Linked DNA regions of Homo sapiens: region 1 is linked to region 2. Evidence: promoter capture Hi-C in human tissues and cell types (Jung and others, 2019). All regions are on one chromosome and are shown on one strand. The core of a region is centred on a gene start or on the middle of the fragment in contact, and the rest is flanking DNA. Distances in the headings are between cores, read along the strand shown. Region 1 overlaps HEXA (hexosaminidase subunit alpha). Region 2 holds the start of TMEM202 (transmembrane protein 202).

Region 1 (2,700 bases), core at 190-2,689, 44 kb before region 2:
AAAAAAAAAAAAAAAATTGAGACGCTGTCTCAAAAACAAATATAGTTAGCTCTGCCAATGAAGCCAATTCCCCTAAACATTTGTATCCCTGGAAACAGCCTGAACATTGATCTACAGTAGCCTGTAAGGTAGATTTAAGTCACTCTGTTATTTTTTGAGTCTTGGAGCAGCTCATCTTCTACATTTTTCCCAGGAGCTCATAGAATTACATACAATTTTTTTTTTTTTTTTTGAGACAGCGTCTCACTCTTTCACCCAGGCTGGAGTGCAGTGGCGTGATCTCCACCCACTGCAACCTCTGCCTCCTGGGTTCATGCGATTCTCCTGCCTCAGCCTCCCAGGTAGCTGGGATTACAAGCATGCACCACCATGCCCAGCTAATTTTTGTATTTTTAGTAGAGACAGAGTTTCACCATGTTGGCCAGGCTGGCCTTGAACTTCTGACTTCAGGTGATCCGCCCACCTCGGCCTCCCAAAGTGTTGGGATTACAGGCATGAGCCACCACACCCAGTCCATACATTCCCTCTCTAACTCTTTAAGAATTTGGAACTTGGTCTGTCCGTTGCTCCATCACCCTAGAACTCTTAAGTGTGAAGAAGGCCTTAAGGCCTGGTTACCAGAGTGTCCAGGATGCTAGAGAGTGGCAGGTAATGGCGAGATGTATCCAACAGCAAGCCCCGGTGAGGAAAGCGGGGAAAGTCCTCAATCTCAGTCTTGTTGATAAAGAACTGTGCAGAACAAACATTGAACATGTCAGTTTCAAAGGAAGCTTACTATGGGGGCACAGGGAGATGAAGACAACTCTCCCAGGATTCTTAAAAAGCCAATCTGTGACTGTTCTCAGGGTCGCTCTCTCCCTAAATGCTCCCCACCTCTATAAATGACCATAAGCAGCCACCTTCCCAGAGAGCAATTGTCCAACGCCAGCCTAATACAACTGTCCCAAACACCACTCAGCCTACAAATTCTGGATTTTCCTGTTAACATAGTTTATTTTCTTCAAAGCAGTGTGGCCTCAAGGTCATTACTAAATGATGACTCAGGGGGACCAAATTACAGTGATTCCAAACAGACCAAATCTACCAAACCAGTTTTCCACTCACATCTCCTCTTCCATTTCTACTGGGGCTATCTCAAGCCACCAGGATCCTAAGGCAAAACAAGATTTTTCTAGGATTCTCAATATTGGGATCCAACCCCAGAGATGAAAAAGGAGCCCTTTTTGAGGGTCCACACTTACTGTGCCCTCAGCAGATTTCCAAACAAGCTGGCTAAAAGTCTCCAGACCTAGGAAGATGTAGAGAGGCAGAGTAAAGACTCAGGGAGTGGAAAAAGAGATGTCTCTATTTGGAAGGTTCTCAATGTAGCAGAGCATAACATTTGGGTACACAGGGAAAATGGATGTAGTGTAGGCTTGACGATTTTTAACACTGATGAAAAGGGGATATTAGGAAGCCACTATCCATCTTTACTTCTGTATTTCATTTTGGGAGATGTCAGAGTAAGGGTTTTAGTGCCCTTCCTTACAACATACTAACCTTCAAAACCCACATACCTCTTATCTATATTTCCTGTGCCTTCACAAGAATATTGAGAAGAGAGGCCAAGACATATACTCATGAGGACAGACACAGAGACAACTCAGCCTGCAAGAGTTGGACTTTTCATGGATAACCCCTATCAGGAGCTAAGAGAGCTGAGAAAAGGGGTCCCAGAATAAATTGTGAGAAAGTGATCATAAGCTTGGGTTTCCAAGGAGCCTGGGTTCATGGCTGGACCTAGAAGATAAAAAAAATCATCCACTCTTCCTCTTCAGAGTCTAAGAAGAGACCCAGCTATAGGGAGCTGAGGTGTGGTGGACAGCAACTGCCCCAGAAGGACTCCCCTAGTCCACTGACACTGTCTCCTAGAGTCTAGCAAGGCCCACACACAGGTATGTTGAACCCAGAGTATTGTATGTTCTCAACAGCTGGGGCCCCTCTTCTGGAAACCCTGCAGAAGCCCCATGAAAATTATCAGAGTCCCCAGTTTCAAAGTGAAAGAATCCATGAGACCTCAGCAGTCACTCAGCACCTGATTTGAGCAGACTGCTAGTGTACTGTTTTGGCTTCTCCCCACTCTGACTCTGACACCCAGCATTCTGGAGTTCCAGGTCCTCCCTTACCTCTAGCCTGACTCACCATCAGCACCTGCATGAAAGGTACAAGAGGGCAGGAAGGGGAGGCAGCATGCTGTTGCTCCAAGCATAGAAGTGGAGCAAGGGAATGAAGACAAACTAAAGCAAGGTGTGGAATTCCGAGAGAGTTTCCCACATCATTCACCAGCAGAGGGTTTACCAAAAGTGGGAGAGATATTTGGCTAAGTCTGTATCTAGGCACCAAATGCCTTCTCAGTAAACCCAGAAGAAGGGCAAGGGCCAATAGTTTAGCCAGTAAACTCATTTTCTCCAGAAATAATGTAGTTCTAAATATTTCACTACTATTTATCTTTTTTTTTGCATGTATCTATTTCTTTTGTTATAGTTTTCCTTTTAAAAAAACCTTTCCAATTACATGTCTTTAGCAAGAGCTGGACAGACAGTGTCTGTGGTAGCATCATTCCCCCTGCCCCCAGCTACCTGTCCCCTGCTGGCACCTAGAACATCAGCCCACAGACTCTCCTACTGCTTCCCAGAGCCCCTGACTAGGGCAGCAGCAGTT
Region 2 (2,700 bases), core at 77-2,576:
GGAGCCCCTCTGTCCGGCCAGCCGCCCCGTCCGGGAGGGAGGTGGGGGGTCAGCCCCCCGCCCGGCCAGCCGCCCCGTCCGGGAGGTGAGGGGCGCCTCTGCCTGGCCGCCCCTACTGGGAAGTGAGGAGCCCCTCTGCCCGGCCACCACCCCGTCTGGGAGGTGTACCCAACAGCTCATTGAGAACGGGCCATGATGACAATGGCGGTTTTGTGGAATAGAAAAGGGGGAAAGGTGAGAAAAAGAATGAGAAATCGGATGGTTGCTGTGTCTGTGTAGAAAGAAGTAGACATGGGAGACTTTTCATTTTGTTCTGTACTAAGAAAAATTCTTCTGCCTTGGGATCCTGTTGATCTATGACCTTACCCCCAACCCTGTGCTCTCTGAAACATGTGCTGTGTCCACTCAGGGTTAAATGGATTAAGGGCGGTGCAAGATGTGCTTTGTTAAACAGACGCTTGAAGGCAGCATGTTCGTTAAGAGTCATCACCACTCCCTAATCTCAAGTACCCAGGGACACAAACACTCTGCCTAGGAAAACCAGAGACCTTTGTTCACTTGTTTATCTGCTGACCTTCCCTCCACTATTGTCCTATGACCCTGCCAAATCCCCCTCTGCGAGAAACACCCAAGAATGATCAATAAAAAAATAAAAAAATTAAAAAAAAAATACAAAGATTAATTTCTCTAATGATCTGAACATAGAAACCAGCAAAGATTTCATGATGAAGATGCAAAAAGCAATTGCAACAAAAGCAAAAATTGACAAATGGGATCTAATTAAACTAAAGAGCTTCTGCATAGCAAAAGAAACTATCAATAGCGTACACAGAAAACCTACAGAAAGGGAAAATTTTTTTGCAAACTATGCATCTGACAAAGGTCTAATATCCAGCATCTGTAAGGAACTCAAATAAATTTACAAGAAAAAGACAAATAACCCCATTAAAAAGTGGGCAAAGGGCATGAACACTTTTCAAAAGAAGAAACACATGTGGCCAACAAGCATATGAGTTCCCCTTTTTTTATTTGCTATGAGGGAACTGTGTCTTATTTATTTTTGTGTCCCAGAAGCTAGCACAAAGCCTGACACACAGCCACTGCTAACAAAATGTTTGTGGATTTATTTAATAAAAGAGTTGGGAGTAGGTGGAGAATGGAGGGTGGGGAGCATCACACATACATGCACATGCTTAAAATGTGGTGATTTCTTCCTGATCTGACCAGATCAAAAATATAAAACAGAAACAGGATCTATGCCATGGGTCCTGGCCCTTTTTGCTTCTGCCAGCATGTGTGAGGAGATGCAGAGACAAATTCCGTGGCAGTTAGAGAACTAACTGCCAAGATGGAGCGAAGGGAACATTTAACCTTGACTTTCCACAGTCCTGAGGTTCCCAAAATAAAGGGGAACCGGAAATACCAAAGGGTGAGGAGGTATCTAATTGAAAGTCAGATGGGAAGAAGAGAACTTACTTAAAGGCAGGGCTACACAGAGCATCCTAAAGACAGAAAAGATCACCCTGAAAATTGTGGGGTTTTTTTTTTTTAGGAGTAGGGAAAAATATCTATAAATCAAACACACATGGGAATGCTTGAGGTAGAGAAGAGCGGGTGACCCTGGGGATCAGGGGTTATTCTTTCGGGTAGGCAATATTTCCCTCATCCTTGTAGCCTACCGTCCCTGCCAAGAAACATCCAAGTGCCTCGATGTCATGCCAAAGGCAGCAGCAGCTTATGGATCAGGCACACATCTACATCCGAACGCTCTGTGGCAGCCTCTGTAGTTTTAGCCTCCTAATGCTGATCGCCATGTCCCCACTGAACTGGGTACAGTTTCTGGTGATCAAGAATGGCCTTGAGCTCTACGCAGGACTCTGGACCTTATGCAACCATGAGCTGTGCTGGAGCCACACACCCAAGCCACCCTGTGAGTGCCACCGAATTAAATGCCACAGGCCCCACACAATTGCAGAGCTTTCTGCTCACACAAATTGGCCCTTCATGTTTCTTCCTCCAAGATCTTTTGGCCTTCACCTCTCCAAGTGCAGGATGGATCTTTCTTTGGTATCCTCAGTGTGCCCTTTCTCTCTCCTATTCCAGGTTGTTTCCTGTCCTAAATAATGGGTTATACTCTCTTTATGGGAAGAACTGTTTTTGTTTGTTGGTTGGTTTTTCGAGACAGGCTCTTGCTCTAACGCCTAGCCGAAGTGCAAAAGCACTATCATTGCTCACTGCAGCCTCCACCTCCAGGACTCAAGCAATCTTCCTGTTCAACCTCCTGAGTAGGTGGAACTACAGATGTGTGCCAACACTCCTGGCTAATTTTTAATTTTTTTAAATTTTTTTTTCTTTTGTAGAGACAAGTTCTCATTATATTTCCCAGGCTGGTCTCAAAGTCCTGGCCTCAAGTGATCCTCCCAAAGTACCAGGACTATAGGTGTAAGCCACCATGCCTGCCCTAGGAATAACTCATTTACAAGGTGTTACTGCTAAGCAATGTGATTGGTATTCTAATGTGGCTTGCAGAATTAGAAGAGAAGTGATTGATCATAGCTGGAAGATAAAGCAAATATCTTAACCTCTATTAGATTTAACTTTCAAGGTCAGCTTGTTCTTCTCCTAGCAGTGGAATAGAACTTAAATGTACGTTAGATATGTGGTATAACAAATGCCAGCTATGAAGATAATGTTATTTAT

The links. The method cuts DNA at HindIII sites, captures the fragments that hold promoters and counts their contacts. A contact is called where the count stands out against the background at its distance.
Region 1: a contact is called between a fragment that was not itself captured here and the fragment with the promoter of TMEM202 in region 2, in 1 of the 25 tissues and cell types used here (hippocampus).

The regions. Positions count from the first base shown.
Region 1 is chr15:72,352,450-72,355,149 of GRCh38, forward strand. It overlaps HEXA (hexosaminidase subunit alpha), which reads right to left. Exons shown (of 14, transcript NM_000520.6): 4 at 1,242-1,288; 5 at 619-729. Among named protein-coding and RNA genes, the nearest start is that of HEXA, 22 kb to the right of the region's middle. The HindIII fragment of the contact is 4,095 bases long and covers 1-2,700 here.
Region 2 is chr15:72,396,979-72,399,678 of GRCh38, forward strand. It overlaps TMEM202 (transmembrane protein 202), which reads left to right and starts at 1,327. Exons shown (of 5, transcript NM_001080462.3): 1 at 1,327-1,429; 2 at 1,675-1,930. The coding sequence starts at 1,349. The HindIII fragment of the contact is 13,856 bases long and covers 1-2,700 here.